Regions from separate parts of the Homo sapiens genome. Here region 2 is linked to region 1. Evidence: promoter capture Hi-C in 16 types of primary human blood cells and fetal thymus (Javierre and others, 2016). All regions are on one chromosome and are shown on one strand. Each heading gives the region's core, a stretch centred on a gene start or on the middle of the fragment in contact. The rest is flanking DNA. Distances are from core to core; before and after follow the strand shown. Region 1 holds the start of KRTAP19-6 (keratin associated protein 19-6). Region 2 holds the start of KRTAP6-3 (keratin associated protein 6-3).

Region 1 (5,614 bases), core at 879-3,378:
CAATAAATAGTGCTGGGAAAACTGTACATTCATGTGCAGAAGAATGAAACTAGTCCCCTATCTCTCCCCATATACAAAAATCAAATCAAAATGAATTAAAGACTTAAATAAAAGTAAACTATGAAACTGCTATAAGAAAACATTGGGGAAACTCTCTAGGGCATTGGTCTCAGCAAAAATTCCTTGAGTAAGATTCCACAAGCACAGGCCACCAAAGCAAAAATGGACACATAGGATTACATCACGTTAAAAAGCTTCTGCACAGCAAAGGAAGCAATCAACAAAATGAAGAGACAACCCACAGAATGGAAGAAAATATTTGTAAACTATGCATCTGACAAGGGATTAATAACCAGAATATATAAGGAGCTCAAACAAATCTGTACGGAAAAAAAAAATCTAATAATCTGATTAGAAATGGACAAAAGAACCAAATAGATGTTTTGGAATCCTCATTCGCTATTAGTGGGGATGGAAATTAGTACAACCACTATGGAGAACAGTTTGGAGGTTTCTCAAAAAACAAAGAATGAAGCTACCATATGACACAGAAATCCCACTGCTGGTGCTAAACTCATCTTTAGCATCAAACCTAATCTCTAGTCCCTGACACCATGAGCTACTACAGCAGCTACTATGGAGGCCTGGTATACATCCAAAGGAAGGGAAAACAGTATATCAAAGAGATATGTGCACTCCCATGTTTGTTGCAGCACTGTTCATAATAGCAAAGATTTGGAAGCAACCTAATTTTCCACCAACAGATGAATGGATAAAGAAAATGTGGTATGTATACACAATGGAGTACTAGTCAACCATAAAAAATAATGAGATCCTGTCATTTGCAACAGAATGGATGGAACTGGTCGTCATTATGCTAAGTGAAATAAGTCAGGCACAGAAAAACAAACTTTGTATGTTCTCACTTATTTGTGGGAGCTAAAAATTGAAAACAATTGAACTCATGGAGATAGAGACTAGAAGGATGGTTAACAGAGAATGGAAAGGGGAGTAGGTGGGTGCAGGGTAGGGGTGGGGAGGGATGTGAGTGATGGAGGAGTAGGGGTGGTTAATGGGTACAAAGGAATAGAAATGATGAATAAGACCTAGTATTTGATAGCACAAAAGTGTGGCCATACTAAGTTATACTCTCTTAGTTATTTTAAAATGTATAATTAAATTGCATTTAAATTAAATTATTGATTTAATCGAACATTTTAAAATAAGAGAGTGTAATTGAATTGCTTTAACACAAAGGATAAATGCTTGAGGGGATGGATACCCTATTTATCATTTACCAGTGATTATTACTCCATTAACCAGTGATTAGTATGCATTGTCATGTCTGTATAAAAGTATTTCATATACCCCATAGATATATATACTCTACTATGTATTCTTAAAAATAAAATTTGAAAAAAGAAAAATAATATTTAATGGAACTTCATGGGAAAAGTGTATGCAGAGGAAAAGGTACACTTTTGAAGTTAATGGATGAATAAAAAATTGGGAAGAAGCCTAACAAAAAATTGGCAGAGGAAGCTAATTGAAGGTTTCTCATAGAAATTAAGGCAAGAAAGCTTTACAAAAGAATGAATGGATGGAAGGTTAGCAATGTCAAAGGTCAATTAAAGTTCAAATGAGTCAAAAACCAAGGTTTCCTCTAAATTTGACTACTGGAAATCACTAATGACTTTGTGACTATGCCCTGACTACCATGAAGAGAAGTCCTTGGGTTCTGGGAATGAAGTAACCAAGACGATGGACTGCAAATTAAAAAGAAAAGCAATATGAGGTTATGTAATTACAGCGTTACTGGAAGCTATCAACCCGATTAGACCATTTTAATTACAACACCAGCCTGGCCTTTGAAGTGGCTATAATCATTTTTCATCTTCAAAATATTTTGTTCTTAGGAATGCAAACTAAAGACTAAAAGTCTTTAAATAATAGTTTGGACCCTTTGTTACATAAGAAAAGAAAAAAAATAAACAATTGTTAGACTTAAAATTATTCTGTTATGTGGAAATAAGATCACCTGTCATTGTTGTTCATGACACCCACTACTTAGAGTATAAAATCATTCTGAGAAGTTAGAGACACCTACACTCAGGAAACTCATCATTAGCATTGAACTGAATCTCTAGTCCCTGACACCATGAGATACTATGGCAGCTACTACAGAGGCCTGGGATATGGCTGTGGAGGCTTTGGTGGTCTGGGCTATGGCTGTGGCTGTGGAGGCTACAGATATGGCTCTGGCTATGGAGGCTATAGATATGGCTGCTGCCGCCCATCATGCCGTGAAGGATATGGATTCTCTGGATTCTACTAAAAAACTTGCTGATTCTCATACTCTAACTCCAAGATCTTGCCCGTATGCTTCAGCAAGGCGAACACTTTTCTCAATGTAGAGAAAATACCTACCATTTTTTGGCTTCATGCTCCAGAAGGAACTAGCCATCAGTTTTTATGGAAGAATCTGGAATCATTACATTGAATCAGGGTTTCACCTATTATTATTTAGTCACTGACATCTGTTGTGACATGTATTTTAAAATAGTTTTAAATAAACACGTTTAACTTGAATAGCAAACATGGCTTTATCAATTCATTTTAGTACATTTCAAATGCATTGATGAGACTTCAATCAAGCTGTTTGTCTTCTTTCCTCTGAATTGGTGTTTTTATTTCAACAGTTTTGCCTCAATAATATATTTTATTCAACATATATTCATTGTGTGTCTCCAAATTTGGGCACCATTCTAAGTCCTGAAGATATAAAAGAATAAGATGGACAAAATCACTGTGTACTTTCATCTGTCTTTACTTTTTATCTGTTTTCAGTGGTTTTGTGTGTGATTTTGTTTTTAGAATATGATTATGTACACTATTATTTTTATGACTTAGTTTTAAACAATAACTTATTGCAATCTTCATTCCAATTAGTGTGTTTGTATTCTGAGGTTTATCTCAAAGCACAGTAATTCTATGTTAATCAATGAAAGCGAATTTTAAATAAAACATTGAGTTAATATAAATAATATTTGTAATAATACGTAAGGTCTAAAGAATGCTATCAAAGCTCGCATGTACCCAACACTGACTTATCAAATGTATAATGTCCTTTATGTATAATCAATTTTAAACTATTGAACATATGAGAATCTACTCTACCTCCTTGACAAGTTAAATTACTTGTCTTTCTGTGTTCCTACCTGTAGAGTTCAAGCCTTGCTTCCCAAAAGATATTATTTCTCAAAAGTAAACCTGAGGGATGTCTGAATTAAAAACACCGAGAGAGGCCGGGCACGCTGGCTCATGCTTGTAACCCCAGCACTTTGGGAGGCCGAGGCGGGTGGATCACCCAGGGTCAGGAGTTCGAGACCAGCCTGGTCAACATGGTGAAACCCCGTCTCTACTAAAAAAACAAAAATTGGCTGGGTGTGGTGGCACGTGCCTGTGGTCCCAGCTACTTGGGAGGCTGAGGTGGGAGAATCGCTTGAACCTGGGAGGCAGAAGTTGTAGTGGGCCGAGATTATGTCACTACACTCCAGCTTGGGTGACAGAATGAAACTCTGTTTAAAAAAAGAAAAAAGAAAAGAAAAGAAAAGAAAAAAAAAGAAAAGAAAAACCCCATGACAACATTTTTACCAATTTAATTTTTAATTTTCTGGAGGATAACTTAGATAATTAGTTTTCATTAGTTTTGCTATTGGTCTGCTGACTACTCGTCAAAATTTCCTTGAAAATAACTATTCTAGATAGTACTTAAGGTCTCTTAAATTTCTTAAATTTCAGTAATTCTTGACATACATTTCTACTCCTACCATCTTGCCAGTGAACAATGTTTTTGTAGTAGCTTTCAGGTACTTTCCACTCTATGTCATGTAAGAGTTAGCACAAGACGTTATAAACCTGGAAGATGATTTGGAGGAGATTTGATGTAAAAATAACATCTAAATACAAAATAATAAACTAAAATAGTACCATGTTCCTCTAGAGAGTTCATGTTATGTTTATTTCAAATAAGCGATTAATAATGATGGGAATGGTACTGTTCTGTTTATATGTTATTATTTTTTGTTGTTGTTTAACTGCCTTTTTTGCCTATAGGTATGGTCATTTGACAGCATTTTGGAAGCATCTGCCTAATGCTAATTATTCTTTCTAAACTTATTTTTAAAGTTTTATTTTTAATTGACAAATAGCTTTATATGTTTATGAGGGCACAGTGTTATATTTTGTTATATGTTTACATTGCGGAATGATTACACCAAGCTAACTCACAAATCTACTATCTAACATAGTTATTTTTTAGGGTGGTGAAAACATTTAAAATATACTCTCTGATACTTAATTTAACATATACACGCTTGCTAAAATAATTGAGTTGCAAGCAAAATTGCAAATTATGTAGTCTTAAAAAGTTAATTTATAGGATTGAAAATAAAACTGGCAAGTAAATTTCTCATTCATCAACCAGGCTTTATGCTACTGCTGCCTATTTTCTTTCAAGTACAAAGGTAGAGAAATCACCTTGAATAAAATATTATAAAATAAACAGCATATTCTCTAACCCTTTAGATATTGAAGAATGTATGTACTTTTTTAATCAATAGTTAAGTGTGTCAAATTATTGTGAAATAACATGGAAATTTCTTATTGAGAAAATTAGTTTGGAACAACAGCGAGTCATCCCAACTTTATTTTCTAGACTGGGGAAATAAAAAACAGACTTATTAGTGCCCATTTTAGTTAATGATTATAGATTGTAATATGATTATTAGTTTTTGTATGCGATTGTATGGGTTTTGCAGTCAGGATCTTTAGGTATCCCTTGCATTAATATGATGCCAAACACACAGCAGGTGTTCAATGAATATTTGTTAAAAGAAAAAGAAAACATCAATAACATAATAGAATATTGGGATTCAAGGAAGTTATTGATTAGGACTGATTGGGACCTTCAATGACAAAGTTAAAGTACAAGCTGAAAATGGGAAAAACACTGACAAATTGATTTTCAAACCATTTTTACAAACAAAAATATTTTAACTATTATATTTCTGTTTCATAAAAATTCACTTTTGATAGATTCTCTCTAGACACACTTAATTAACTGCAAAGCTATATAAGTCAAAAGCCTCAGTTATTTGCTAATATAACCTTAAAAAATCTCTTGGCCTTTTATAATCTATTATGAACTTTCATAATTCTACTTCCAAATTCTATTTTTATTCTATAGATGAAAAGCATATTTTTAAAATGAAGGAAATCATGTTTTCCAGCAAAAACTCAGAGGCTTGTTGATAAGACAAAGGATGATATACATGTTTTTATAAAACGACTCGTAGAGCTGGGGTTCCATCTGTAGAAAACCTGCAAAGAAAATCTACCTATTCTTAGTGACACTGAATCCTTTTCATTGATTTATATTTGCTTTCACTTAAAACATCCAATAGGTCACAGACAAGTAACACACAAGGATAAAATAACATACCATTCCAGTTACATTTTTCTAAGGAATCAGAAAAAGAGTCTTGTGTTAGAAAAAAAATTATTTTTCTTTGCAGATAATTTTGAAAACTCAGGGTCAGTGTCAAAAAGAGGA
Region 2 (5,614 bases), core at 2,100-4,599, 51 kb before region 1:
CTTGCTAATGTTCTTAAGAAAAAAGAGAAAAAGCACATACAAAAGCAAGAAACAAATACTGAAACAGAAGAAACTTTAAAAATTATACGAGAATACTTCACAGATCTTCATGAACATAAATTTGAAAACCTAGTTGTAAAAAAAAATCTAGGGGGATGCATATTACCAAAACTGATAACTCTGGATTTAGAAATTGACAAAGGGACTAATTTCCTTAGAAAAAATACAGAAAATCATTAAAGAAATGTCTTGTAAAAATGCCCCAGATTCATATTTATCAGGAAAGTCTACCATCATAATTTCTATGATGAAGGATGTACAACATTTATTTCAGTGGTGGGCAGACTACTAAGGTGGCTCCATGGTTTCTATTCATTGATGTTCAATGCCCTCATGTGATCTCCTGTCCTTGAGTGTGAGCAAGGCCTGTGACTTGGTTCAACCAAATAGCATATAGTAAAGGTGACTGAATATGCAGATACATGTATATATATATGATTGTATGTTATTGCCACAAAAGATTGCAGCATCCATCTTGTTAGAATCTCTCTCTCCCTCTATTCTTTGATTTGAGAAAGCAAATGACCATATTTAGCAACCCACATTGTAGGGAACTAAGGAAGCCTCTTGGGTTCTCCAGCAGACAGCATGCAAACACCCCCAGCCAACAGTCAGGGCTGAGACCTGCAATTATTCAACCACAAGGAACTGAATTCAGCCAACAAGTACATGCGCTCGGAAGTGGGTCCTTCCTCAGGAGAACCTCAAATAAAACTGCAGACCTGACCAACACCTTGATTGCTTCATTGTGAGACCCTGAAACTTTCAGTGTATACCTGAAAACGCTGCTTTTATCCAATTATTATGACCCATCGTGTAGGACAAACAGATTTACAACCTACAAAATAAAATATCTGGGAACACATTTAATCAAGAAGGTGAAAGATCTCGCAAAATATTGCTGAAAGAAATAATAAGTGATACAAACAAATGAAAAAACATTGCATGCTCTTGTATGGGAAGAATCAGTATCATTAATACGTCCATACTGCCAAAAGCAATCTACAGACTCAATGTCACTTCTATAAAACTACTAAAATCATTTTTCACAGAATAAGGAAAATCTACTCTAAAATTTATGTGGAATCAAAGAAGAGCCTTTCCTTTCTTTTCTAAGGAAAAATAACCAAGCTAGAGGCATCACACTACCCAACTTCAAACTATGCTGGAAGGATATAGTAACCAAAACAGCATGATACTGGTATAAAAATTGATGCATAGACCAATGTAATAGGATAGACAACACAGAAATAAAGCCACACACCTACAACCATCTAAACTTCGACAAAGTTGATAATGACCAAGCAATGGGGAAAGGACTTCCTATTCAATAAATGGTGATGGGATAACTGACTAACCACATGCAGAAAATTTAAATTGGTGACCTACATTCCTCCATATACAAAAATTAACTCAAGATGGGTTAAAGATCTAAATGTGAGACCTAAAACTATAAAAATCCTAGAAGAAAACCTAGGAAATATGATTCTGGACATAGGCTTTGGCAAATAATTTTTGGCTAAGTTCTCAAAAGCAATTGCAACAAAAACAGAAGTGGACCTAATTAAACTAAAGTGCTTCTGCACAGCAAAAGAAACTGTCTACAGAGTAAACATATAGCTACAGAATGGGAGGAATTATTTACAAACTCTGCATCCAACAAAAGTCTAATATCCAGAATCCATAGGGATCCTAAGCAAATCAACAAGCAAAAACCAAATAACCCCTTTAAACATGGGCAAAAGGCATGAGCAGGCACTTCTCAAAAGACTATAAAATCAGCCAACAAATATATTTTTATATATTTGTTATATACAACAAATACATATATAAATTATATATGTGTTACATATATATTTGTCATATATTTGTTATATATAACAAATATATATGTTAATGCATAACATTAGTGACCAGTCAAAATAGTTACTATTAAAAAAGTCAAAAACTAAAACGTGTTGGTGAGGTTGTGGAGAAAAGAGAATGCTTATACACTGGTGATGAGAATATTAAATTATTCCAGTCACTCTGGAAAGCATCTGGAGATTTCTCAAAGAACTTAAAGCAGAACTACCATTTGACCCAGCAATCCCATTACTGGGTATATACCCAAAGAAAAAAAAATTGTTCTACCAAAAAGAAACATGCACTTGTCTGTTCATCGCTGTGCTATTCACAAGAGCAAAGACATGGAATCAACCCAGATGTCTAACAATAGTTGACAAAAGATAATGTGTTTCATGTGCACCATGGAATACTATGTAGCCACAACAAAGAGTGGAAATCATATTCTTTGCAGCACCATGGATGCAGCTGGAGGTGATTATCCTAAGCACATTAATGCAGGAACAGAAAATCAAATACCACAGGTTTTCACTTATAAGTAGGAGCTAAAAATTGAGTGCACATGTATATAAACATGAAAGCAATAGACACTGGGACTCTTGGAGTGGGGATGGTGGGGGGTGGTAAGGGTTGAAAAACTACCTTTCACATATTACCTCAGTGGCATGCAATTCACCCATGTAACAAATATACACATATAACCCTTGAACCTAAAATAAGAGTTGAAAAAAATAACGATAAAAGCAAAAAATCAAAGAAAAAAATTTTGGACAATAAATAAGATACAAACACCAAGATTTCTCTTGTGGATTAAATGTGTTTATTAGGTCAGCAGAGAAACAAACTACAGCATGAAAGTCATCAAAGGAGTCACTGTGACACCATCATCCTGATAAAAGGAGAAGTGACAGGTGAACTTCACCTTATCCCACTTCATGATGGAAACTCAGGGTATTTTTGGGTTAGATGGTAGATCAACAACAGATCATATTAGACTTCCACTGCAGGATATCATCAATCAAGGGAAAGGCTCAGAGCATGTGGGCTTCAGAATTGGTGAATTGCAATGTCACAGGATAGAGGGTGAGAGTCTCCCATGGTGTCCTCAATAGTAGTAGCCAAAGCTGGAGCCATAGCCAGAGCCGCACCTATAGCCACAGCCACAGAAGGAGTGGGAGACATAGCCATAGCCACAGCCATAGCCACAGTCCAGGCCTCTGTAGCCACAGCCACAGAAGGAGCCATAGCCACAGCCCAGGCCTCCATAGCCACAGTCCAGGCCTCCATAGCCAAAGCCCAGGCCTCCGTAGCCACAGCACCCATAGCCACAGCCGCCATAACCACAGCCCAGGCCTCCGTAGCCACAGCACCCATAGCCATGGCCACCATTGTAGTTTCTGTAGTAGCTGCCACACATGGTGTTGGTTGTTGAGGTCATCCTTGGGTAGGAAGGAGTGTAGGTGACTTCAGTATGGACACTTCTCCGCAGAGGGCCTTTTATATGCCTCAGTGAATCAGAACATAGCGTGCCCCTGCAAAAATATCTCTAAAGGCCTTTCATTGTGCTGAGAAGTTCTGGCCCTTACGTATCTCTCTGATTTCATATCCTGCTACTCTCCTCCATTTATCTATAATGCTCAAACTCTGCTGGCTTTTTGTCTTTTAAAATGCAGCAGGTTTCTTCTCACAATAAGGCCCTGGCCTCTGCACTTACTGATTTCTCTTTCTTAAAATAATACCAGGAATATTTGACTCATTTTCTATTTCAATTGAAATGTTCACTTCCCAGAGAGACTTTTAATGGCCACCTTATATTAATTAGTCTACCTCCAGTAACTGAACTTAATGTAACTCACTGAGTTTTATTATTCTCACAGGATTCTTCACTGTTAGAATCTATTTCATTCATTTTTAAAATCAGTCTCTCTATCCCTTCTGTCTCATTGTAACCTGCAGAAAGTAGAGACTTTGTCTATTTTGTTCATCTGCTCAATCTGCATTTCTTATAACGGTGCCTGATACAGCAGATTCTTAATAAAGATTTGATGAATTAGTGAAAAAATAACCAAATGAATGACATGATGCAACTTTCTATACTCAAATTCTGTGTAGAATAATCACAATCTTTGTTCTATGCTTGGGGTAACTGGGGATAAATTCATGTACTCTGGGATCCTTTTGGATCATATGCAAACCAGTGGAGGAATTTATCATGGTGATTTTTTTCTGGTTTGAGAATCCATGCCTTTTCCGATTGTTAAGGTGGTGGTATATATCCACTAAAGTTTATGAACTACTGTGTGCAGTTCCGAAATTCTGACTAAATGTTCTACTTGCCTCTTATTGATATGATACTTTGCCAGTCTCACATTGATCTACAAAGTATGATCCCTAGGTTGATCATTGGTAGTTCTGCTACATTTAAGAGTAGCAAATGAATTAATATGTACTATTATTTGTTTATATTTTATTCTAATTGCTTTATCATAATAAATGACTAATAATTCATTAATAATATTTAATAAGTGGATGGAATAAACGTGACAAATTATCACAGGGAGCTTCATAGAAAGTCAGCTCTCATAATTAAGGCTATCACCAGAATGCATTTGGGCCAGAAATGTGGTTTGCTGATGTTATTCTATCCAAGTCACCACTTTAAAAAATAGTAACAGGAATTCTGCTAGAAGATGAAAAGTATTTTTACAATACTTTTGGAAATTTGGAATTAATATATTTTAAAATAAGCAAATTCATTAAATATAAAAAGAAGGTAAAATATGTGAATATTATGTGTCAGGAGAGGAAAACATGAATTTTGAGATACGGTGGGTAATTGTTTCTAATTGCTTTCTCAGATGCAAAGAGAACACCACAACTAATAATATAACCAAAGTGAGGATGATGGAAGAGAAAAAACTTTACTACTCCAAGAACATAAGCTACATATGAACTTGGAAGAAAATTTTTAGTCCCATTGATTAAGAAATAAATTAGTCAAAACATACAGGCATATTTGCAAGTAAATAAAGACATTTTCATCGGCTTCCTCACTGCATAGCCAACCTTCCCTAACCATTCCTGGCCACTCTGTGGTTTAAGGACTGCATTTATGGAGGTAGAGGAGGATATTGAAAAAGAAAAAAGAAATGTTTCAAGAGGCAGGAAATATAAGCTTAATGTGATCACAGAGAAGCTAATCATCAAGTTTAAATTGGGATTTTAAGTAAGCAAAAGCCACAAAATTAAGAGAATATCTCCTTAAGGCTCATGATTTTACTTGTTGGCATCCTGACACATAGCAATATTAATATTTTCCTGGACATATGGCTAAGAGATTCTTGAGGGTTTTTTTAATCTTAATGCAAATTAGTTGTGAGAATGAGTCCAATGTAGATTGTGGTTTCCTTCACATATAACTCAGGTTGGATAAAATAATTTGTACAAATCAGGAGAGTCAAATTTCAGAAACTACTATCTGCCTCAATTGAACTCCATCTTCTGACACCATGTGCTACTACCACAACTATTATGGTAGCCTGGACTATGGTTGCAGCTATGGCTCTGAATATGGTAACTCTGGATATGCCTGCAACTTTCCGTGCTCCTATGGAAGATTCCTATTGGCTCCTAGAAAGAAATTCTGATTGCTGATCACTTTGAGCCATTTTCTTGTGATGCACTAATTGCATCAACAGGGTTATTTATG

What was found. Contacts are between HindIII fragments. The CHiCAGO score rates a contact against its expected background, and 5 or more counts as called.
Region 2: the fragment with the promoter of KRTAP6-3 here is called in contact with the fragment with the promoter of KRTAP19-6 in region 1 in 1 of 17 cell types (neutrophils); the score reaches 5.1 in neutrophils.

What each region holds. Positions count from the first base shown.
Region 1 is chr21:30,538,378-30,543,991 of GRCh38, reverse strand. It overlaps KRTAP19-6 (keratin associated protein 19-6), which reads left to right and starts at 2,128. Exons shown (of 1, transcript NM_181612.3): 1 at 2,128-2,457. The coding sequence starts at 2,159. The coding sequence ends at 2,335. The HindIII fragment of the contact is 6,762 bases long and covers 1,583-5,614 here.
Region 2 is chr21:30,590,175-30,595,788 of GRCh38, reverse strand. KRTAP6-3 (keratin associated protein 6-3) reads right to left here and starts at 3,349. Exons shown (of 1, transcript NM_001433434.1): 1 at 2,734-3,349. The coding sequence starts at 3,322. The coding sequence ends at 3,011. KRTAP22-2 (keratin associated protein 22-2) reads left to right here and starts at 5,392. Exons shown (of 1, transcript NM_001164434.1): 1 at 5,392-5,614. The coding sequence starts at 5,415. The coding sequence ends at 5,552. The HindIII fragment of the contact is 10,326 bases long and covers 1-5,082 here.